Linked DNA regions of Homo sapiens: regions 2, 3, 4, 5, 6 and 7 are each linked to region 1. Evidence: promoter capture Hi-C in 16 types of primary human blood cells and fetal thymus (Javierre and others, 2016). All regions are on one chromosome and are shown on one strand. The core of a region is centred on a gene start or on the middle of the fragment in contact, and the rest is flanking DNA. Distances in the headings are between cores, read along the strand shown.

The links. The method cuts DNA at HindIII sites, captures the fragments that hold promoters and counts their contacts. A CHiCAGO score of 5 or more calls a contact.
Region 2: a contact is called between the fragment with the promoter of PLD1 here and the fragment with the promoter of SLC2A2 in region 1, in 3 of 17 cell types (activated CD4 T cells, total CD4 T cells and megakaryocytes). The highest score is 8.3, in activated CD4 T cells.
Region 3: a fragment that was not itself captured here is called in contact with the fragment with the promoter of SLC2A2 in region 1 in 2 of 17 cell types (non-activated CD4 T cells and fetal thymus); the score reaches 6.3 in non-activated CD4 T cells.
Region 4: a contact is called between a fragment that was not itself captured here and the fragment with the promoter of SLC2A2 in region 1, in 1 of 17 cell types (M2 macrophages). The highest score is 5.3, in M2 macrophages.
Region 5: a contact is called between a fragment that was not itself captured here and the fragment with the promoter of SLC2A2 in region 1, in 2 of 17 cell types (M1 macrophages and M0 macrophages). The highest score is 5.6, in M1 macrophages.
Region 6: a contact is called between a fragment that was not itself captured here and the fragment with the promoter of SLC2A2 in region 1, in 5 of 17 cell types (M1 macrophages, M0 macrophages, endothelial precursors and 2 more). The highest score is 8.2, in M1 macrophages.
Region 7: a fragment that was not itself captured here is called in contact with the fragment with the promoter of SLC2A2 in region 1 in 4 of 17 cell types (fetal thymus, M2 macrophages, endothelial precursors and 1 more); the score reaches 6.9 in fetal thymus.

Annotation. Positions count from the first base shown.
Region 1 is chr3:171,024,992-171,028,413 of GRCh38, forward strand. It overlaps SLC2A2 (solute carrier family 2 member 2), which reads right to left and starts at 1,729. Exons shown (of 11, transcript NM_000340.2): 1 at 1,665-1,729. The coding sequence starts at 1,679. The HindIII fragment of the contact is 3,598 bases long and covers 1-3,127 here.
Region 2 is chr3:171,808,647-171,812,068 of GRCh38, forward strand. PLD1 (phospholipase D1) reads right to left here and starts at 1,837. Exons shown (of 27, transcript NM_002662.5): 1 at 1,753-1,837. The HindIII fragment of the contact is 4,859 bases long and covers 1-3,130 here.
Region 3 is chr3:171,676,295-171,679,716 of GRCh38, forward strand. It overlaps PLD1 (phospholipase D1), which reads right to left. Exons shown (of 27, transcript NM_002662.5): 17 at 1,272-1,400; 18 at 421-539. Among named protein-coding and RNA genes, the nearest start is that of PLD1, 130 kb to the right of the region's middle. The HindIII fragment of the contact is 624 bases long and covers 1,489-2,112 here.
Region 4 is chr3:171,658,516-171,661,937 of GRCh38, forward strand. PLD1 (phospholipase D1) reads right to left here. Exons shown (of 27, transcript NM_002662.5): 21 at 698-786. Among named protein-coding and RNA genes, the nearest start is that of PLD1, 150 kb to the right of the region's middle. The HindIII fragment of the contact is 171 bases long and covers 1,703-1,873 here.
Region 5 is chr3:171,611,226-171,614,647 of GRCh38, forward strand. It overlaps PLD1 (phospholipase D1), which reads right to left. Exons shown (of 27, transcript NM_002662.5): 25 at 1,054-1,207. Among named protein-coding and RNA genes, the nearest start is that of TNIK, 150 kb to the left of the region's middle. The HindIII fragment of the contact is 154 bases long and covers 1,477-1,630 here.
Region 6 is chr3:171,586,586-171,590,007 of GRCh38, forward strand. No RefSeq gene overlaps it. Among named protein-coding and RNA genes, the nearest start is that of TNIK, 130 kb to the left of the region's middle. The HindIII fragment of the contact is 3,285 bases long and covers 137-3,421 here.
Region 7 is chr3:171,566,577-171,569,998 of GRCh38, forward strand. No RefSeq gene overlaps it. Among named protein-coding and RNA genes, the nearest start is that of TNIK, 110 kb to the left of the region's middle. The HindIII fragment of the contact is 5,033 bases long and covers 1-3,422 here.

The DNA of each region.
Region 1 (3,422 bases), core at 479-2,978:
CAGACACTATGTTAAGCACATTACCTTCCTTTTTGCAGTAGCTTTCAAACTTTAGTTATTTGATTACTACCTTCATGAATTTTGCCAAATCTACATACCATCTATGTAGTTGTTAACTTAATGTTTGTCTTTATATTGACCTTAAAGTTCTAACTACTTTAGCTTTATCCTGGGCTATAATACTCATGAAATCATGATGTGCTAATTATTCTTTAAATACATACTATATAAATGCTATATAAATAGCATTTTATATTTAACTTTAAATATCAAACATATAAATGGTGCTTATATAATATGTATTTAAAGTGTTTATACATTATAATATAATTTATCTTTTATAATTTATAAATACTATTTAAATATGTATTTAACACTATTAATAATTATATAACTATTAACATTAAAATTGTTGTCTAAGCCTCTCTAATATAATCTCATTTAATTACTCCCTAACTCTAAAGTACTAGTATAATCCCTGAATATCCCATATTATATCACTGAGCCCAAGTTTCTTTGCCTATAAAGGGTATATTGTATCCTAATATGTTTTTGTTTTCTCACAATAGAGAAAACCCAAAGCTCAGTTAAATAACTTAACCCAGGCCTCACAGCAGTTTAGTGGCATTGCTAGAACCCAGATCCAAGTCTGGCTGACTCCAAAGCCAGTGCAGCTAACCATGCCATCTAATGACATGAAGGAATGTTCAGCAGAGTAAGTTGCACCAGATGAGAACTTAAAGGTGAGACCCTACAGGGCACAGATTGATCAACTTATATGATTGTGTGTACAGGGGTGGGTGAGTTTAGAAACCACGTATAAGGGAGCAAGGACACTATATCCTTTATATTTTTAAGTTTTTTTTTAAAGTATCATATCTAGAGAGAAGTTGAAACAGTAGTGAAGTGATCATTCCATAACCTTCGCCTTTATTCACCACTGGTTAACATTCACCAATTTGTTGATCTCTCGCTCTGTAGTGTTTGTGTGTGTGTGTTGTTTTGGCTGAACCATTTACAAATAAGCTGTAGATATTTGTGTCATTTCACCCCTAAATACTTTAGCATGTACAAAGAACAAAGACATCCTCCTACATAATTAGATACCATTATTATATCCAAGAGTGTGAAATTGATACAGTAATATTATTTAAGATGCAGCCCATATTTAAAATTTCCCAACGTCTCCATAGTTCCCTTATTGCTATTTTTTTCTTCCTTCCACAATCTAAATCATTTGTTGCATTTGGTTGTCAGTTTGTCTTAATCCCTTTTAATCTAGAGAACAACCCTTCTACCTCTTTTGTCTCTCCTGCATTGACGTTTTTGAAGATTCCCGATGAGTTTTCATGATTAAATTTAGGTCAATCTGCCCCCTTTTTTTTTTTTTTTTTTTTGGTTAGGAGGGGACATATTTCTTTAGTAATATGGTTATGCACAATTACTTGAAAAAACTTATGCAGACTAGTCAGTTAACAGAGCAAAAATCCTTAAAACCCCAATTACTGAATAAGAAACAGTTCTTCAATTGGCAAAGTAAAGAGAATTAATTTTGATCTGTGGTAGCTACACCCAACCTCCCCCAAATCCTCTGTATGACTTGACTGTATTCCCCTAACTATCTCCTGAAAACCAGACTTGAAATGAATATAATGCTGCTTTACCTTATCTTCTGTCATTGTACTAGTTGGGAGTCCTGTCAATTCCAGGTCTTGTGTGAGTGTGGCACATGCACCTGACTAGCTCCTGCCTGTTTATTCGCAGCTCTGCCTAGGCCTAGTTATGCATTGCAGGAGGAGGAGCAAGGAGAGGGAGGAGTTGGGCTACCCAGACCTGAGAGTCCAAGTCTAATCTTCTCAGCGGCAGCTGAATATTGATGGGAATCTAATCAATAAGTGCTTTGCCTCAGCAACCTGTGGCTTCAATACCTTTGTTCCACTAGGAAAGAAAATGGGAGCAGGTCCCTTAGGCATAAGTTACAAACCAGAGGCAATCACATTTCAAGGCATGTGTTATGTGGCAGTAATTGGGAGCTGGTGAAAAGAGAAATCTTTGGAGTCTTTTGTAGAAGATGAGATATGCTGAGCTGCCGTGCTGTGCTGTGGAGCATGGGAGGCACACTGCACTCTGCTCCACAGATAATTAGTGCTGTGGTGTTTCTGTTTAGAGCTGAGCTGTGTGGCCGGAGACCATTGTTGACTTGAATGGTTACCTGGATGAGCTTTGGATTGTTAGGGACTTGGGTTTGAATCTCAACATTTTACTGGGGAGTATAACCTTAAGCAAGTGGCTCACTGTGACTTTTCTCTGATTAGTTTTTTATTTTTGCCTGATAAAATAGAAATAACACACATTTTGTTTTGTTGAGTGGATTAAATGAGATAATATGTGAAAGTGTTTGGCATATCTCAACATATAATAAGTACTTAGCAAATAGCGGTTGTTATTATTATTGCTTCATATATGTCAAGAAGCACTTGCTGGAGGCTTTAACGTAGAGTTCTCAAATAAACCTGCTCATATGGCTTGATCTTGGGCCTAAGTATCCCTTATGATATCCAAACCCTGTGGGGGTTCAGGAGATATCAAATTTATTGAGCTTTAAGTGTGTGTGGCAACTGGGGCCACAGATTGCACTGAGGCTCAAATGGAACCAGTTCCCAGCGGAACAAAAATGTAACAAGCAGCAACACAATGAGGGGTGTTATGAAGAAACAGGGTGAGAAAATGAAGGATTAGAGGAGATTCAGATTTCACCTTTTTATTTTGCCACCCTGTTTTCATTTCTGTCACCTCTGCAAGGTGACACACCTGAAATGTTTGGTTTGAGAAGGTAATTCAATCAAACTACAAACTTTTACTGAGTCCAGCACAGTTCCATGCTCCGAGATGACTGAGATAAATAAGTCACAGCCTCCTCTTTCTAGGTGTTTATAACATATAAGATGAGACATATGTAATGCAGACACAATACAATAATTTCATAGTGGAAAAGCGTGAGCAAATATTAATAGTAATGATGGTTAATCTTTACTGAGGTCTTGCCGGGTGCCAGGTGCTGCTCTCAGCACTTGACATGGATTAACTCGTTTAGTCATAACATGAGGTGCTCTGTGTCATAGTGCCAAGCTTTGGGGAGCAGCTTTGAAGTCAGACTTTAAAGCGCCCAGTTAGCCACGCTGACTTTCCGCATCAGTTTTGGCTGGTGATGAGCACGCCCCATTGCCAGAGCGGTCCACAGTCAGGAGCGGTTCCATGGCATTTGCCAGTGACATGACATTCTGCAGGAAAGCGTCTCTGTGCCGCGTCGTAAATGATACCGGTGTGGTTTACCAACCTTTGTCTTTTGAACCTGCCTTTTCAGAAACGGAATTTGCCTTGAGTGCGCGGGCGGCCAGTGAGCCTTTAACTTCTTGTGCTCA
Region 2 (3,422 bases), core at 587-3,086, 780 kb after region 1:
CACTAAGTAAACATACAACTTCCAAGAAGCCGGGTTCCCCACTACCTGGTTATAAGTAAGTCTACAAACCTAAATGAGCATTGTACAGCGCTTACTATAGTTCATAATTATTCTGTCATCAGGGACAAACATTGTAAAGACACTTTTTCCTCAAAGCCTTAGCATTCAATTTTTTTTTTTTTTTTTTTTTTTTTTTGAGACAGATTCTTGCCCTGTCGCCCAGGCTGGCGTGCAATGGCTCCATCTCGGCTCACTGCAACCTCCGCCTCCCGGGTTCAAGCGATTCTCCTGCCTCAGCCTCCCGAGTGGCTGGGATTACAGGCGTGTGCCACCACGCCTGGCTAATTTTTGTATTTTTAGTAGAGGCGGGGTTTCACCATGTTGGCCAGGCTGGTCTCAAACTCCTGACCTCAGGTGATCTGCCCGCCTCAGCCTCCCAAAGTGCTGGGATTACAGGCGTGAGTCACCGCGCCCAGGCAGCACTCCAACTTTTTATATGGATTGTTAACTGTACTGGTTCTTGAGAAGCCAGACTGAGCGCTTATACAATTAGTCCAAAGATCCCCAAACAACATTTAAAGGCTGTCTACAAATTCAAGCTAAAAGACTGTGTACAAATTCATTTGTGTGTCACAAAACATTTAATACTGAAAGAGATTCTTATTCAAATAGGCAGTGTGTAAATGTGGGGTCTGTTAACAGTTCAAATTGCAGATTCCTTTCCTTCTTTAAGTTTTCATTGCACCACCACGAACTAAACCATTTAACATACCTCAGAGGTCTCTGGGTACCTAGTCTCTCAGAGGCCTTTGGAGGCCCACGAAGGCTTATCTTAACTAAAATTGGCAGGGCTGGCTGATAAAGTTAACGGAACTCCCCATTTTGGAGGCAGACTTAGTAATGGTCAAACGAAGAAACTGTTGTGGTCTGTTCTTAAAAAGCTACTAGTATTTAGTGCTTCACAGAGGAAGTAAAGAAAGCAATAATCCGAGATGAGGAGGAGCAAATACAGGCGTGGCGGTAGTTCAGGACTGAGTCTACAAGGGCGGTTCTCAAGGGCGTCACAAAATCCTATGGAAGGCTTGGAGGACGGCACTCCTGGATCTGAGCCCTACGTCCCAAACACCTTCAATCGTATTGTGAGGAAGAAGACCTTTTACACACTCCCTGCTGCTGGCCCCCGGCCCCCTCGCCCCACCTCCGAGTGGTCACATCACACGGCGGGAGCCGCGGTCAGCAGCTGTGATCACACCCCCAGGACCGTGCTCTGCGGGCTGGGCTCGAAGCCTTGGGACGCGGCACTTCCTGGTTGGTACGGGATGCCGGTCCCATCGCCCCCACCAGCCCAGTCATGCCACCGCGCACCCGAACCAAGGGCGCCCGGATGACCTGGGGACACCACACACACTGCACCCGAAGCCCTGTGGCGGCGAGGCGGTGCATCCTGCAGAGGACGCCTGGGCTTCAGCCTGAGCCTGCGCGGCTCTGCGCTCCAGGCAGCCGCCCGCGCGGCAAAAGTGCGTGCCAGAGTTGTCAGCTTTCACCCTGCAGGAATTCCACCCGAAGGCGTGCGAGGGAGGCCCTTGGGGATCGCTAGGGAGTCCGCCGCCGACTCACTCGCTGAAATCCCGTCCAAGTTGGGCGGGGAGCGGCCAGCTGCCCAGGTTGGGCGGAGGAGGGACGGAGGGCGAGGGCAGTGGAAACCCGGCTCCCACGGGCGCCCGGTGATCCGGGTCTCGGCGCGGCTCCTACCTGCAGGGCGAAGGGGCCGCTAGCACCTGCGCGTTGGCGGCGGACTCTCAGGGCTCGGGTGCCTCTGGCACAGCTGGAGCTCAGCGGGAGGGAGGGAGAGAGGGCGGGCCGGAGGGGGCTCTGCGCTGCGCGGCCGGCAGGAACTCTCCGCCCGGATTCGCCCCGGATTCGCAGGGGTGGAGCGAGGCGGTGCCAGGTCCCGGGGCGTCGCGGTGCCGGCTGGAGGCCCCAGCGGGGCAGGTCTCGCGACTGGGCCTCTGATCGCCCGCGTTCCTTGTTCTCTTTTCCCAAAGTTTCATAACTCGACCGCATCACCCTAGGGAATGCTCGCTATTAGGACCATTATCAGGTCCTCTCGAGCCGCCAAGGACCAGCCACCTTTCCCGGAGCTTTGCCTATGATATCTATTCTTCGACTACTGCGGATAGTAGCCACAACTGGTCCAACTTATAAGTAAGGAATCAGCAAATCAAACGGCTAAATAACTTGCCTGAGGTGACATAATTAAGAGACTGGAGCTTTGCTGGAGTCTTTATAAGCCTTCTTGCACCTCCTTAGGGAAGTGTTATCGCCAATTTACAGGTAAGGAAATGAAGGCTCAGAACCAGCCCGAGGTCACACAGCTTAGATGGAGGGGGACGGGAATTTGTGTCCCGATGTCTCTAAAACTGGTTATAATTCAGAAATCTTAGCATAAAATAATAAATTGGGAGCAAAACAGGGAAAAGACCCATTCCACCTATGGAACCGTTCAAACACGGCAATTTTGCTGTTTTCAGTCCACTTAGAATAAAGTCTTAAGAAAAAGAGAACCAGTTGTCATGTGGCTTGAATAGCAGCCCTTTGGGAATGTAATTTTGAATATAGGCCAGTTCCAACCTCATTACACGATATTGCATCCCGCCAAAGCCAGGGGAAGCAATGGCCTCCCCATGCACCAAACTGCTAATAACGTCAGCCACTTTAAAGCATTTAGTGGATATTACACAACTGCGACTGACCAAGTTACATAATGTCTTACTGCACACATGGCATTGCATGAAATGAAAAATATAATATACCAGTCCAAATTAGGGGAGGGGGGCCAAATTATAGTCTGGAACTCAGTTTTCCTGTAACCTACAGTTGCTCAGCCCTCCTTAGACCACATTTTTGTCTCTTGAGCACATCTTTTCCTAATGATAGAAGAGTCACACAGCCCTCACTCTTTCCTTGTTGACATAAATGATTGATGTCTTTTGAATCCTATGATACTGACAGATTTTTACAATTAAACACATGACTCTCTGAGCAGAGTATTGCCTAAGAGGAGTTTAGTAAGTTTCAGACAAGCATGTTACTGGAAGGCAGAATACCCTCTCTCCTCCCCTCTTTCTCAAGCTTTATTAGTCACAGATGGTCTGATAAGTCTTGTGCACACACGTAACTGCATTCTTACAAGCTTGTCTTTAGAAATTATAATGCTTTTGGTTGAGAAGCAGCAGTCTATAAAATTGCATCCCAAATTCTTAAGTGTCACTATGAAAACATTTGGCACTTGCCTCCAACAATAGGTCTTTCTACTAAATCTAATTAGAAATAAAATTATCAAGGCCAAGCGCAGTGGCTCACACCTGTAATCCCAACACTTTGGGAGGCCGAAGCGCGTTGATTACCTGAGGTCAGGAGCT
Region 3 (3,422 bases), core at 551-3,050, 650 kb after region 1:
ATATAAACCCAGTGCAATTCCAGTCCCATCCAACTGGATGGGACTTTAAAGCTCAAGCCCTCTCATCTAAACCAGGCTCCTATCCCCCTATAACAGCCCTGCAAATGACTACCGAGCCCAGGCTACTAAATGCTTAGTCAACACTGTGTCCAAGATGTTAACAAGGTTAAAATCAGGACCCACACAGCAGCACCTGTCCCTAGGCACTCTGAATTGTCTATGGTGTGGACATTCGGGAATGTTTCCCTTTTTTTTTGCCCAGATGCCCAGGCACCCGGACATCAATGCAGCCAACAGCAGAGCAGTGACACAGTTGTGGCCACAACAGTCTCTTCTTGCTACCAGCCTCCTCTAAACCTCTTCTCTAGTTAGGCCTGCCTCTCTTCATGTGGATAAATCATGATAGCAACATCCAAGTACTTTTGTGAAGTTCCAGCGCTGGATGAAGTGACGTGCCACATCACGAGCCGCCTTCCCGTGGACTGCAGAGGCAATGTCATGCCAGGGCATCCGGGGCGTGGAGTACCTGTCAATGAAATCTGCCCGGGTGCACCAGGCAAGGATCAGTCATTAACTTCAGTGTTGGGGCAAAGTCTCTCTGACTCCAACTATGAAACTAAAAGGAAACGTGGGTTAGTGCCCACTAGGTATATATTTCTTGGCTTGCATAGAACAACATTTTTATAATCAAGGGAAACAGATTTCACATTCAGGGACATAGTCTCCCAGGCACTTCCCCACATATGTTTCCGTTTCACTTAGGATTAGATAATCACTAGACATGGCAAGATGTGAGTTGGTACAAATTATCTAAGGCTGTGTATTTGATATTATATTTTTTATTTTTTATCCTGTTGAAACAATGGCAGGCAATGCCATCTCTATCTCCTCTTAAACATATAAACCCAGTGATAACCTGAAAATATGCCATTCTAACGCTGGAAATGCAGGAAATAAGCAGAATAGAAGATGATCAAAGGGAGCCTACCATTTCCTGAAAAATTACTGATTATTGCCCCCAAAATATGCCTATAAAAATCTGGATTTTTCAGACAGTTCAGCTCTATTTCATGTTCTTTTCTTATTATAACTGAAAAAAAAGTCCTTAAGCACATGCTAATGACTAAATCTAGTCTCCAAAGTTTTAAAAAATTTTCAAAAATCAACGGAAGCAAAACAAAAGGCATTTAGATCATGCACATGTATACTTGCTGAGATGTTCAAAGGTAAAAGACAAAATATAACCAGCACCCCACCATTATGATACTCACCAGCAAAAGGTTTATCAAGTTGAACCCAGTCTTTGAAGACGAAATTGCAGTAGTCCTTTCCATGCCAGAATCTGGTTTCCCCATGCAGCTCTCCCACACCTGTCTGTAAACTACGGATGGACCCGGTATCTGTGAATGCAGCAAGACCCCCTCAGAGACTGTGGTTCAGGTGAGTCCCAGAAAGGGAGGCTCAACTCTCATTTATTAAACACCTAAAAGCTTCTTAATTTCTTAAGACACAACTAGGGTGGCATCTGTCCATTCTATTACAGGCTGTGGGCTAACAAGGTTTTACAGTCCTTACAAGTTTACTTTTAGTGGGCAGTTAGGGCTACAACAAGATTCATCATTAAACAATGAAATTTGACCTTCTCAGGCAGTTGAGTAACTTATTTCCACCACCTACCAGATCACTGGAAGAACTATCACAGAATTAACTGTGAATAAAGAACTCACAAGGTGGCACTATGAGAGCAGTAAAGCTGGTGGGGGGCTTTCAGGGGCAGAGTGGGAAGGGCGGGGAGGGGAGAGGTGGAGAAACCTGAGACGCAGGGGCAATAAAGACACCATGCCACTTCTTTTTCCTCAACCAACATGGTGCACACCTGATGCATAATTCTTTTGCATTAAAGCAAGAACCTCAAATTTACAGATAGCCCATGTTCCAGCCCTGGAATTAATTAGCTAAGTGACACTGAGCTTCAGTTTTTTAGATCATAAATCCATTATGCGTAAAATGAAGAATTTGGCCTAGATAACAGCTAAAATCTGTTGCGCTTTAACATTTATATACTTCAAATCATAGATGGCATTTATAAAAAATATGGTAACAACAGATGAAAGCTTATGATATAGGTGCAAAAGCAGCAATCTACTATAGCATTTCACAAATAACTGTGCCGAGACCATTGACTTACGGCTAAATACAAAGACAATGAAGTAAAAAGATGCAGAATTACAAATCACAAACGCAGCACTTGGCACAAAAGAGGCATTTAACAAATAGACACTGAATGCAAAAATATGTGTTGAATGAATAAATGGTACTGCTTGCAGTAGCCAGTGAGAGGACTACACTGGTCCTGCCACCAACACACTGTCCCAGAACTGTCTTTGTAAAATGCACTCTTTGCTTAAAACCCTGGAAGGTTCACATACTGCCTATAGGAAGCTCAAGTCCTAAGGGCTTAGTGTGCATAGAAGACTCTTCCCAAACTGGTGCCAATCTATCTTTCTAGTCCTTGTTTTTCCCCACCCAACCCCAGGCCCCATGCAAATCACGTGTTTCACTGTATTATAACAGGTGTGGACTGCCATGTCTCCATGCAGTTGGCACATTATTACTTCTACCTGAAATGCTCCTTTCTCCCTCTTGGCCTGATATCCTAATCATCCTTCAAGAGCCACATTAGCTATCACCTGCCATCTCCCCATAAGGAAGAGGCAGTCACTAGCACTGCTGTCATCCCACTAACAACTGCCCCAACACCTCTGACTCTGTGACGCAATTGTATCAGGATGCTCCCCTGCCCGCATCAATGCCTCACCAGTCTATAAACTCTTTGGGAGTGGGAACCAAATCTTCTCACTGCCAGTAGCTCCAAGCACCCAGGCAATCAATAAATATTTGCAGAACAAATGTTTTTATGTAATCACCACACACAATGCTAATATTCTATCTCAAACTGAATCATTAACCTTTCAAAGGCTATTAAAGTTTTCTACAGAAGAAAAATGATTTAAAATGCCATAGATTAGCAAAATGAAATCATGTTAAAAATAGACTTCTATTGACTTCTCCCAGTGATTTATTTTCCTGCTTTATGAGACTGAAAGGCCAAAGTACGGGTAGGTCTGTTTGCTCATCTATAGGCTCTTTATTGTTTACATAGCACTTTGTTAAAAGAAGAAAAGAGGGTGAGAAAAGAAACAAAAGGGATGAAAAATGAGATAAACAATATTTCAAATTTCAAATATAAAATACACATATACAATTTGCTTTCATCAACTGCAAAACTCTAAGCTAAGGCTTTACATAAACACATATACACTCATTTAAAAATTATCTTTCACCTAACAACCAGTTATGATAAGGAAAATAAAGGAAATTCTTAGTCTCAGGAAATTATCTTGGTACTAATTGAATTCAAC
Region 4 (3,422 bases), core at 538-3,037, 630 kb after region 1:
CTTCAAGAACATTATGCTAAGACAAATCAGTCATAAAAGACCCCATATTGTGTGACTCCATTTATACAAAATGCCCAGATTAGGCAAATCTATAGAAAAAGAAAAATCAGTGGTAGCCAGAGGCTAAAAATAGAAGGAATGGGTAATGACTGCTAATGGGGTTTCTTTCTGAGTGGATGAAAATGTTCTAAAATTGATTAGGTGGTGGTTGTGCAACTCTGTGAATACACTAAAAATCACTGAATTGTATAGTTTAAGTGGCTGGATTATACAGTATGTAAATTCTATCTCAGCAAACCAATTATTAAAAAAAAAATCCCATGAGCTGAATAAATATGACATACGGTAACAAGAATTTAAATATAACCCATAGCAAAATATTATGTCTGTTTTGCTTTTTTAAGCGAACACAGCTCATAGTCTGCTATTAAATAAAACAAATCACAAACCTCATGTGTGGGAAACAGACTGGCCAGGAAGAAATTTTTGTGCCTTGGAAGAATTCAAATTCCCTAGAAAGGGCAGTCAAAAATCTTTAGCAACTGACTCAGACTAAAGGCATCAATAACCTATTGCTGGCTGAACCAAATTTAAGCTGCTAGGAAATGACAGTACTTTAAAAATGGGCTTTGCAAAGTCATTTTAGTAATAAATACAAGAACATCTGCAGCGAGAACTCTCAGCCAAAGGCTGTTACCTGTGAGCTTTCAGGATCCTCTGGGCAATGGCATCGCCTATCTTGTTGAACACAACTTTGTCATCAGCACAGCTTATGAAAAACTGGTTCTATGAGAAATAAACAAGACAATCATGTTAGTCTTTATTTTCTTAGCAATATACGTAAGAACAATACTGTAATATATTTTTTAAAATGTTTCACACAGCAGATGTGTTCTGATCACTGAAATCACATCAAGAAAGTCAACGACACAGAAAAAAAGCCGCCTCATCTCACTCAGGGTCTCATCTGATTCCAGGTCATATCACCTGTAACACTTAATCAAGTGGAAAGTTACACTATATTATTTCACCATGAGAATTCCTTATAGGTGATTTTCTAAATTACATTCTCAGAATACTTAGGAACACTGCAAATTTAATCAATGGGGAAACTAGTTTTTTTCAGATTCACATGTTGTATAAATGCTTATGATTAAAAATTCTATATTGGCAAACATTCTATCTCATGCTAAGCTTGCTTTTTTAACAGAGTAGATGGTAAAGCCTGGTCTAGTTTTCTCCACCCTTTCTCCATTATTTCCTGGTATCTGCTTTCACCTTGTCTTGTTTGTCTGGGTCTCTTATTATCTCTGAACTTCTATTTTAAGTAGCCTCAACTCTCTTTTGTATGTTGCATATATATAAGCCAGTTAATAAAATAAAAAATGTTTTTTTCCTCTAAGTACTTCTGCTATTTATATATCTACAAAATAGTCTTTAAAACTGTTACTAGAAAACAAGTTACAACATTATCATAACAATGCAAAATATTTTGTTGCTGCATAAAGGAATGTGAAAAATTTGGTGCAAATATTACTAATGTTATGTGTTCAAATAGAATAGATTGTTATAACACATCTGTAATTTATAAGGACAATTATCACAAAGTAATATTTGCTAATCATCTCAAGGTAAAGAGATATATATGTAACAACTCGTAATTATCATCCCTTTGTGGCATTATCATTTTTATGACTATATAAGCTTTTATACTTAAGTGCATAAATCTGTAAAATGCCTCCAGAAGACAAACTTACAGGAAGACACGGTGCAGAAAGTCTTTTGAGAATGTGATTCCCCTTAGGGCATCAGACAATCAAAATCTCATTGGCAACCAAACCATGTTTCTTTTTCTGAATTCATATTATAAAGAAGCTTAGCATGCCTCAGCAGCTGTAAACACAGACTGGCTACATGTCATGTCCTTTACTTCTCCTTTTTTGGAAGAGTCGGATGAATGCTGACTGCTTATCTTGACTAGAGGAGTGTCAACCAGGTCTATGTCCCAACTATGTATACCTACATGGCGTTACTGACATCATTTAATACTACTGTCACATTAAAAAGAAAAGCTGATTATTTTATTTTTTATTTTTTTTATTTTTTTGAGATGGAGTCTCACTTTTGTCACCAAGGCTTGAGTGCAATGGCATGATCTCGGCTCACTGCAACCTTCGCCTCCCAGGTTCAAGTGATTCTCCTGCCTCAGCCTCCCAAGTAGTTGGGATTACAGGTGCCCGCCACCATGCCCGGCTAATTTTTTTGTATTTTTAGTAGAGACGGGGTTTCACCATGTTGGCCAGGCTGGTCTCGAGCTGCTGACCTCAGGTGATCCACCCGCCTTGGCCCCCTCAAAGTGCTGGGATTACAGGCATGAGCCACCGTGCCCGGCCAGAAAAGCTGATGTTAATGCTACTAAAAAGAGATGAAGCAAAATGATTCTGGGCAATAGATGAGCCAGCCTTCACATCTTTCCATCTCTATGGTATAATTGTTTAAATTAATAATACTAATAGCATTACTAAGCTCCAGACTTTATGCAGAGTTCGCTCATTTTCCACTAATGTCCTATATCTATTCCATGATGCCATTCAGGATACCACACTGCATTTAGCCAGCTAATATATTATATTTAACTTAGGTTTCTCTAGCCAGGCTCATGAAACAAATAAAGCTCCAATTCTTCCCTGCTTGTCTCTAATGAATTGTTGCTGTGCAGAGCGGGAGAGGGCCAGGACCCAAGGGGAAGAAAAACAGGGCTAGAATGGTTTTCCTCAGTTAACCCATTCCCCTATCTACCTTTAAAAAATTCAATGGGAAAGAAAAGACTCAAATAAGGAAGGAAATTATGCTATGATTTATTTTTTCCATTATTGTGACTTTTTATTTTCTCAGGGTTTTTCAAGTTCTCTGAACTATTTTTATATTCACTTTGAAGAGTAATTTAAGTTCCCAAACTAAACTCAGTGTCCCCAGATTTTCTCATATGCTCTAAAAATTCTGGGATGAAAAAAAGCTTCCTAATCAATAGTAGTTCACACAGGATTGAAGAAGGTGGTACCTGCTCTTAATGTTCTCACATCTTCCTTTTCCACGTTCTTTTCCCTGCACTCTCCCTACTCCGCCATGCCCAAACCAGTGGCATCCAGTGGTCTCTATTTTAGCAACTCACCCCTGTGTGTGCTCTCCTGAAATAGAACTTGCTTCACACTTAAACCCTCCAACCCAAGCGAAAACAAAACTTACCTATCCATGTTGGGGTATTTCTGTCTAATACTATTACAATGAGTTGATGATGCATTTTAACAGCAAAGATTTGTGAGACTCCCAATAGAATCTTGAGTTAATGACAATGCAGAGCCAGTTCCAGGTATGCTTGGGAGGTCAAAATTCAGGTGATATGAACCAGAGCTTCTCCAGCA
Region 5 (3,422 bases), core at 304-2,803, 590 kb after region 1:
TTCCTACAAAGGCCTAGAGTTGGGAGAGTAGTCAGGGTGTTCCACAGCCGGTGGGGAAATGAGTGTCTGCAGGGAGCAAGGGAAACAGTGAAAGGAGACGAGATTATATTACTTGTTCCTTGTGAGATAAGAAGCCATTGGACAGTAGTGAGCAGAGAAGCAACATGATCTAGAAGGTTCTAGAGGGACCACTGTGTTGAGAAAACACAACAGGGGACGTGGACAGTTACAGCGCAGCCCTTGAAAGTTCTAAATAACACTTTATTGAATGGACTTATTTAGGATCGCACAGCTGAAACGAGCCCAGCTTCCTAGCCCAGTATTCTCTCTGCTTCACCACAGATTAGTTTAAAATTTGCATCTTCTTGCCAAAGATCAGGGATCTTCGACACCTGGAGTCATTTTAGACCTGAAAACAGAAGTTTCCACATTTAAATTTTACACCAGCAGTCACTGGCATACCCCTTCAATAATTTTTATTATATCCTTGTATTACTGGAATTAATTTGATTTTAAAAACTTAAATGGAAGCTGGAGGGTTTGACCTGGTCTAGTCCTAATTCAGTTAAGGACTAGTATTTAATTGGCTCACGTCTGTAATCCCAGTGCTTTGAGAGGCCAAGGCAGGAGGATCACTTAAAGCCAGGAGTTTGAGACCAGCCTGGGCAGCACAGCGAGACACGGTATCTACAAAAAATTTTTAAAAATTAGCTGGGTGTGGTGACACGGGCCTGTAGTCCCAGCTACTCGGAATGCTGAGCCAGGAGGATTGCTTGAGCCTAGGAATTCAAGGATGCAATGAGCTGTAACTGCACCACTGCAGTTTTTTCTACTGCACGTGACAGTAATAAAAAGCTATTAAAATAAAAAATATTCATGTACCACCTAAAGTCATTTCGCATACTACTGGTGGTACATATCCTATATTCTGGGACACACTGTTTTAGATGAAGAAGAACCTAGGATGACCCATGTGCTCAGGGCTAGCGGGGCTGGGTCCCAGCGACTGCTGCAGTGGAAATGCATCAGAGAGACACACTTTGGCGGACTGACCTAAAGCACTGTAGCCGAAGTCCTCGGGCAAACCGGCCAGCTTGGTACTCTTTTCCATCCATTACTGAAGGAACAGTCTCTGTATCTTGCACAATGACAGCCATTTCACTGTCACGCTTTCCCAGCATGCTGCGGTCATTTATGTTGGCAGAGCCTGTAAGGAGAAACAGTGAGGCTGAACAACCTTCCTGTTGTGGCAGACACTGTTGGTTGCCCTCCCAACTCAATTCATCCTTGCAAACAAAACCGTAATTTTGTCCAGGTTTTCAAGGGAAGATGTGTTTTTAGGGAGGTGGGGCCCTCCCTAACCCAGGGGTGAATCTTAATCAGTCTAAGCCAGCCATGGTAATTTCATTATTTTTATTAGTGACTGGCTTAGAAATGGGCTCTTGACATGGTGCTAGCCAATGTGACATGAAGGAAAGCTTCTGAGAAAGAGTTTCCCCTTTGTATAAACACACAAAAAATGGATTCTGTCTCTTCCATCCTTTGGATATCTTGGCTTGAAGGGTTGGAAGAAGACATGATTCCAGGAGCTGCTGCAGCCATTTCACAACCACTAGAGAACAAACAAAAAAGCTTAAAGAAAATGCTAAGTAGAAAAAAGAGCCAGGCATGGTGGCTCATGTCTGTAATCCCAGTGCTTTGAGAGGCCAAGGCAGGAGGATCGCTTAAAGCCAGGAGTTTGAGACCAGCCTGGACAACATAGCGAGACCTGGTCTCTACAAAAAGTTTTTAAAAATTAGCTGAGTGTGGTGACGCATGCCTGTAGTCCCAGCTGCTCGGAATGCTGAGGCAGGAGGATCGCCTGAGCCTAGGATTTCAAATTTGCAGTGGGCTGTAACTGCACCACTGCACTTCAGCCTGGGCCAAAGAGCAAGACTTCATCTCTAAACAAAACATAAAAATAACAATTAAAAAAGAAGAAAGATTCTGGGTCTTTAAGTCATTGAATTAGCCAACCTTTGAATATTCTTACCTTCTGTCATGTGAAATAATATATTTTCCTTATTTTCTACATTGTTCCTTATTGTTTCACACACACTTCTAGTTGAGTTTTCTACCTTGTGGCACAAAAGATTCTAACTGTTACAATCATCAAGCACTTGAAAAAAGGCATGCCTACCAGTTCAGTAGGAAAGATGGCTTTGCTTTTGGAGTTAAGAATCAGGCTCTCTGTAGGCTTTAACTCAAAGTCACATAACTGTGAATGTCAAAACTCAAGAGTACCTTCATAATTAATAGAGTATAATCTCAAATACAGATTGTCATTTGTGGCTTTGGGCTTTCTGCTTTCTTGCCTCCCTCACTTGTGTAGCATGCCAATAGCTTCTGTAGCAACTTTCCTCCATTCTATTTTTTAAAATTATTAATTCTCTTTATTAGCTCAATACCTGGTTCATTCAAGGAGTCCATTTTTTTTTTTAAATCCAAGTGAGCTGAGAATGTTGACTTTTACATGTGAAGGGCAAATATTTTGCTATTAGTTCAACCTGTGCTTTCTGCAGTCCTCTGCTGTGTATTCAGGAACCTCATCACGTTTTTTTGCATTAATCTCTGCAGATTCATGCATTTGAATCCTTGAGGTGTCCTGCAAACTACAGAAAGGGCCTGACTGACTCTTCTTGTTCCTCTTGCTCTAGCTGCAACAACTCCACTGCTTCTTCAGACGTGGAGCAGAAGGGTCAGGTTGAACAGGCACCCTGGCGGCCCTCTGACTGGAGCAGCCAGAGCTATAAGGTGACAGCAGCCCTACCAGAGCTCAAATGGTGAGATGAATGAGAAAAGCTGCCCTTTCCTGAAGAGACTTTACTGCCTGTTGCCAGAATATTGTCATGTGGTTAATATATAAATCTATGATGACTATGGATGTGAGTGTTTCCCCATGGTGGCCCTGGGTAACAGAGAAAGGATCGAGCACCCTACAGAAATGTGAGAATGCTACTGGAGTGCTGCTGAAAAGTGGGAACCTTTGAAACACTTTGTTTTGTTAGCACCAAATCATCCTTTATACATAGACTTACATCGTGGTTATGCTATAAAATTTGCAGCTATATCTTTGAGCTTGACAGTTGCCCCAACATTAATTTGGGCAATTCACTTAATCTTTCTCAGCTTTAATATAATCTTTCATAAATTGAGATAATAATATAGACCTTGTAGGGATATTGTGGGAATTAAGTAAGACCATGTGAAAGCACTTAATGATTTACAAGCTGCTCTACAAATGTTAATTATTACTGGCATTATTATCAGATCCTTGTTAACTCTACAATAACTGCACCGGAGAATGCTGCCATAGGAACCGACCATTTGATGGAATGTAGCATTTGTTTAAAGAAGCCTCCTCTCTGGCTTAATCGCCCCAT
Region 6 (3,422 bases), core at 529-3,028, 560 kb after region 1:
CAACCAGAGAAATGTAATTAGTAGGAGATTTATTGCAAGGAATTGGCTTATGTGATTGTGGGGCCTGGCGAGTCTGAAATGGGCTGGGCAAGCCATCAGAAACAACAGGCATTAGGAACTCTCTGGCATGAGCTGAAGCTTCTATCTGAAGGCGGAATTTCTTTTCTTCAGGGCAGCCTCAGTTCTGCTCAGTCTACCTCTGAGTTCCCCCAAAGCTGTGGTAGACATTTCCCATACACAGTGAGAGTTTCTTACATTAAGTGTCAAAGCACCTCTGTTGCTTTCCCTGAGGGCTTTCTCAAGCTACAGGAGTATGTGTTTCACATGATTCTTCTGAAGTGGGATTGAGCCCTGTTGTCCATGGTGGTAGCCTGCCTATTAATGCACTAATGCACTCTCTATTAGCATTTCTCTCATCCTTGACTCACTTTCCCCACTCCCTGACTTGTGCTTTCTGGGGCCACTTCCAAATAAATTACCAGCATCCAAGTCCATTATTCAAGGTCTACTTTTGAAAAAACACTAACTATGATAAGTAAGCATCATTGTCAACTCCATTCTATGTCTTCCTTTATTCCATACCAGCCAAAATGATCTCTTAATTTAATTATATCAAGTTACTCCCCTACTTAAAATCTTTTTGTGATGTCTTAACAATTAGAATAAACTTCAAACTTTTAACTAAGGCTTAAAATACCTACCTGGACTGCCCTGGCCTGGGCCTCCAATGTCATTTCCCATTACGGTCCCCTCACTCACTTTCAGCCACACTGGCCTTCTGCTTGCTCCTCAGTCACACAAGGTCATCCTTTGTGGGGCTCATGGCCTTTGCATCTGCTGTTCTGTCTTACACATTCTCACCCACATTTTTACATGGTGGCCCCTTCTCAACATTCAGACCTGTCCGAAATGCCTCTTCCTCAGAGAGACCCTCCTCCATCACCCTGACTGACATAACATCCTGTCTTCCAGGACTTGCAAACCTATTACTCTCCCTACACCACGAGTATCTTTCTTTTAGGACTTTATACCATCTGAAGTGATCTTTGACTTTAACTGCCTTATTGTCTGTCTCTTTTTACTCCATGGGCAAAAGTTGGTCTGTTTTGTCCACTTTATCCTTAGGGCTCAGAATAGTGCCTGGGATGTTGCAGACCCTTGTGAAAGATGTGGTGAATTAATACATGATTATAAATATGCACATAGCTTAAAAACTTGAGTCTCTTTAGGCAACATCTGTGAGCAGGGATAAGGGATAACAAAAGTGGAGTAAACATTTTTACAAACACTGGAGTTGGGGTTCAAGATACAGAGAGGTCAAGGTTGTTCCTATGCCTATATGGATCATGAAATGATCCTAGTTAAGAGTAAGAACAAAACAGATGAAAAATCTTTGTGGTTTAGGTGGGAGTGACTAAAGGATTGGTAGATGACAAGTAGAGAGAAATGAAATTTAAAATTAGGTCTTTAGATTTTTTTTTTCAAAAAATCCTCCCCCTGTCCTCCTCACACCAAATATTCATTGTGTTGTTGATGCCAATGGCAATTCAGTAATTTTATTGTTAGTTGTAGGTTTCCCTAATCTATTTCAAACATAGAATAGGCCCCACATATATTATGTGCTCAATAAATACTTGTGTAGTGTGATTGTTAATTTTAAGTGTTAGCTTGATTGGGTTAAGGGATGCCCAGATAGCTGGTAAAACATTATTTCTGGGTGTGTCTGCAGGGTGTTGGTGGAAGAGACGAGCATTTGAATCAGTGGACTGAGTAAAGAAGATCCACACTTAACCAATGTGGGGGGCAGACATCATCCAATCCATTGACGGCCTGAATAGAACAAAAGTCAGAGGAAGGCCAAATTCTTGCTCTCTATCCTTGAGCTGGAACATCCAGCTTCTGCTCTCAGACATCCAAGCTCCTGTTTCTCAGGCCTTTGGCCTCAAGCTGAATTATACCACTGGCTTTTCTGGTTCTTCAGCTTGCGGACAGCAGATAGTAGGACTTCTTGTCCTCCATAAACATGTGAGCTAATTTTCATAAGAAATCTCTTATGAGATTATATATATAATATATAATAGTCATGGTTCTCCAGAGAAGCAGAACTAACATCCTAGAAACAACCCATGCAGTAGTCAGGGTTCTCCAGAGAAACAGAAGCCTATGAGAACAGGGTTTAGAGTGATTGTGTAACTTGCCCGAAGATACCAACTAAAATACTGACAGAGCTGAGATTTGACTTCAAGTTCCATTCTCTTAACTGTTAAACAATACTACCTTTGTCTAAAGACTAATTGAGCCAATAGACTTATGTGGAGTTTTTTTTTCAGAGTTGCATTTGTATATGTTTAAAAATTTCTCCAAATACTTTGAAAGTAAGATCTGAAAATCAAACAGATCTTTGGAAATTTTGCAGCTGAAATGGAGAAGGCCAGGAAGCATTTAAACCAGGGCTATGGTTAATGTTATTTGTAGCCTGAGAATGTGACTGAGGGAGAGGGAGCTTACAGGCTGCTTTAGCTGGGCTCACTCTCTCAACCTCGTAGGGAAGTCGTAGTGGGGTCTTACTCAGTGAGAGTGAAGCCTCCGGAAGTTCTGTTCCATTCTCTCTACTCATTATTCAGACCTTGTCTGTGTCATTTAATCTTTCAGTTTGTTGCTCCATAAAATGTGAAAAAAAAAAGTAGCAACTGGTCTGATCTTTCATAAGCAGCTACTCTGAAAGCATACTTGGAAGTGCTTGCAGCTCTTTGGAGGAGGGTGAAGTATTTACTGGTATTATGCCTGCCTTCCGTAGGCTTACCTTGACAATATCTATGATGTGTCCCTAGTGTGCCCTGATGAATAAAGATCCCGAAGTGAAAAATGTAAAGCAATATGGTCTGTGGTGAAAACACCCATCACACATCAGCCCATCCCATCTGAGGTCCAAACTTTTCCTGGCCCTGACTCCTTGCTATCAAGTAGAGGAGATATATTTACCAGAGAAAATTCAGGGTATCTGGGTCCAGTGTATACTATCTGGAATTGCCAAGCCTAAGACAAAAATCCTGAAGTAATCCTGAAGCTATTTCTGGCCTTGGGCACAGGCTTTGTATTATATGAGCATTTAAAATTTCAGAACACTTTCACTTAAGGACTCATGTATTCCTTACCACAAGCCCTCGCCTCAGTTTTCCCAACAGTAAACCAGAAGCATGGCCTGTAATGACTGTTCAAGTAATATCATTATCTTTCATTTCTCCAAATTTCCACTCCTAACTAGAAATCTCTGGAGAGATCAAGCAAGGCAAAAAGAAATCTGTCCAGTCTTGCTTGAGGTTTACTGGTTTCGGCGTGGTCTGGGAAGTGGATAAATCATTGGTCCCTTGGCCTGTGTCTCTCTCACTCAAGTCAAACACAAGTTGGGAAGGACGTACCAA
Region 7 (3,422 bases), core at 582-3,081, 540 kb after region 1:
CTCTCAAACTCCTGGCCTCAAGTGATCCGCCTGCCTTGGCCTCCCAATATTTGGCTTTCCTTTGATTTTACAAATGGCCTGACAAATCAACTCCCTCATCCCCACTTAAGTACTAAGAGTATTGAAAATGCAATTAAAAAGAAGGGTAAATTTTGATGGAAACTACAGTTTTCATAAAAGTGGAAAGAAATGGATGATGAATGGCTCAACAGGACAAAGAGGAAGCTACACAAAATTAAAAATTAAAAAATTATCAGTATAGCTGGAAGACTGGAACTGAAGTTGGATGTCTGTTATCCTGAGGTTAATTCAGGAGAAGGCTCTGGACTAAAAGACAATTGGACTGAGAACTCCCTTTAGGGATGTCACCTATTAAAGAAAGGTAATTTTGTACAAAGCTGCCGCATTTACCGTGAGGCTGCTCATTTTTAGATTCTAGCACCACCTAGAGGACAGAATGAGATAATTTCCATTCACCACTGAACCTAAGGAATCTTTCATCAATTAACCGTTTTTCAGTTTTCAAAACACTTAAATTTTAATATCTGATTTGATATCCAAATAATTGTCTTTGAGGTAGGAATTTCTACCTTTAGTGTACTGATAAAAAATCAATTTTTCCGCTGGCTTACTGTCCAAAGAATTTGATCAGTTTTTTATGTGATCAAAAATTATTATCCATGGATTATTTTTTAAACTTTATTTAGGTACAGTTTATATACTCTAAAATTAACTAATTTAAAGTGTGCAGTTCAATAGTTTTTGGTGAATTTACTGAGTTGTGCAACCATCCCCATAGTCCAGTTTTAGAACATTTTTATCCCCCCAACAAGATTCTTTTTTTTTTTTTTTTTGAGACAGGGTCTTGCTCTGTCACCCAGGATGGAGTGAAGTGGCATGATCTCGGCTCACTGCAACCTCCACCTCCCGGGTTCAAGCAATTCTCCTGCCTCAGCCTCTTGAGTAGCTAGTATTACAGCTAGTAGCTGGTATTACAGGCACCTGCCACCACGCCTGGCTAATTTTTGTATTTTTCAGTAGAGACAGGGTTTCGCCATGTTGGCCAGGCTGGTCTTGAACTCCTGACCTCAGGCGATCCTCTTGTGTTGGCTTTCCAAAGTGCTGGGATTACACTCATGAACCACTGTGCCAGCCAAGAGTCTCTCTTTTTTACAGTTAATCCCCATTCTCACCCAGCCCCATGAAGTCACCAGAGTTTTTTCTGTCTGCATAGATGTGCTTTTTCTTGGAATTTCATATAAATGGAATAATAAAATGTGTGGGGTTTTTTTGCATCTGGCTTCTTCACTTAGCATAATATTTTTGAGGTTTATCTGAGTTGCAGCATTTATCAGTATTTCATTCGTTTTGATTGCTGAGTAGTACTCCCTTGTATTGATATACCAATTATATTTGTCCATTCACCAGTTGATGAACATTTAGGTTGTTTCCAGTTTTTTGCTATTTTGAAAAATATTGCTATGAATATTTGCATGGAAGTTGTTTTTCTAAGTAAGAAACTTTAATTAGTAAACAGGGAAGTGAATAAAACATGTGGAAGAAGGGTGATTATATGAATTATGTGTATTGAGGAGAAAAAAATAGAATAAACAATCAGGAGATGCCTAAGGGAAAGGCATCTGGGTCCTGGGCCCCGGATTCAATGTGTACCCAGGAACCAAGGAGTTCTTGGTATCGTATTCTTCCAGAGACACAGAAGAAGCATGGGGAAAATTATTCAGGATTTGCTCTGATAGTTTAGCAGTATTTGATGACAGTTTTTAAGGTGTTTCTTAATGTTGGATCAATACAATATGTAGCCGATGCAGACCTTGGTAACACATCTGAGGTTGGAGATTGAAGTACCATTATGATCTCTCCCCATCATGAAGATAGAGGTGAAGGGGACATTTCAAAGTGAAAAATAAACTATGTGGTCAGATGCATTTGAGTCCAAATCCAGGCTCTGTTAATATCTATAAGGACTGCAAGGTCAAAGTTCTCATCAGTATCCCTGGAGGCCATGGTACCTATCTCACAAGGCTGTTGTGAGGATTTGCTAAGATGCTTTATGGAAAGCACTTAGCATATGGCCTGGCACACAGTGAGTTCTGATGTTATTTTTGTAAGATTGGATTGTGCTTGACAAACCCAGGAACAGTGACATTGACTTCTGTTATTCCTGAGAACCTTTTACATCATTTCATTGGATGTTTCTGGCCTGAGATTCTGGCAAAAAGAAGTATAAATTTTCTTCAGAGATGATAAAAATGTTTGTGTAAGTGGAACCTCATTAAAAAATATTGCTTGTCACCCAGAATGTTGTAGGCTGGTGGAAAGATTTAGTGCTAATCTCAAGGGAGTGGTTAGGACTTAGGGGGATCCACACTGGACCAATCAGCATGATAGGTTACTAACTCATTTTGCATATAAAAATGTTGTCTAGGACTCTACAGAATTCTCCCTATTAATGGATGACAGTCAGAGGTCCTTGGGTTTAATCAAAATTTAATACCTTGTGAGAGGAAATATGAAGAATACAAATGATCAGTAATAGACAATATGTCAAATGCAGTAATTGCCAATTTTAAAAAGTCTCCTTGTCAGCATATCTACCTTGATTTGTAGTTAGGAACACATGGCCAGAGCTGTATTAAGCCTCTGGGAAAACAAAGGAATGAGATACATATTCTGTTGCAAGAAAATATATCAGAGATTCAACAAAGCCATCATATCTAAAATAATAAAACAGCATGTTTAAAAATATTTAAATCAGGGAATTTCTCCCCCCCCCCCCCCCCATAAAACTGAAGGCTCCTACTTCATCTGGTGCAGGGCAGATGAATCTTCCATGAACTGCTTTTATATTCACCCAAGCAGTATATTAAGAAGGCTGAAGTCAGAATGAGTTCCAGAAATCTTTCTGTTGAGGAAAACCAGAATCTGAGGAAGGAGCAGTTATTAGATGTGCTTGTTTGTCACCAGAAGAATGCAAACAAAGAAATACAGATGAGTTCAGAGTGCTACAGATATCTTAGAGCAAACCAGATAACTATTGACTTGGTGCTATATACTGTAAGGGAATAGCAACCATGTTAGACATTTTGGTATACTGACTTATTGGCTCCAATTTTTATAGCCTTGTAGGCACAGCCATTACCATGTGGCTTTTGAATTCCTCCACTAGAGGCATTGATGTTGGGTTTGAATATTTTGCTTCCTGTGGCCAATAGGATGCGAGCAGAGTGACCATGTACCAGTTCCAGGCTTAATCCTTAAGAAGCATTTGTGTTTTCAGTTGCTGTCTTTGTTTCTGCCGTTGTTATGAGAAGAAAATACTCTGGTCAGCCTGGTGGTCTGAGGAGGAGGAAGAGAGACGCCACATGAAACAGTTCTGGAATCACGCTCAGCCTAGATCAGCT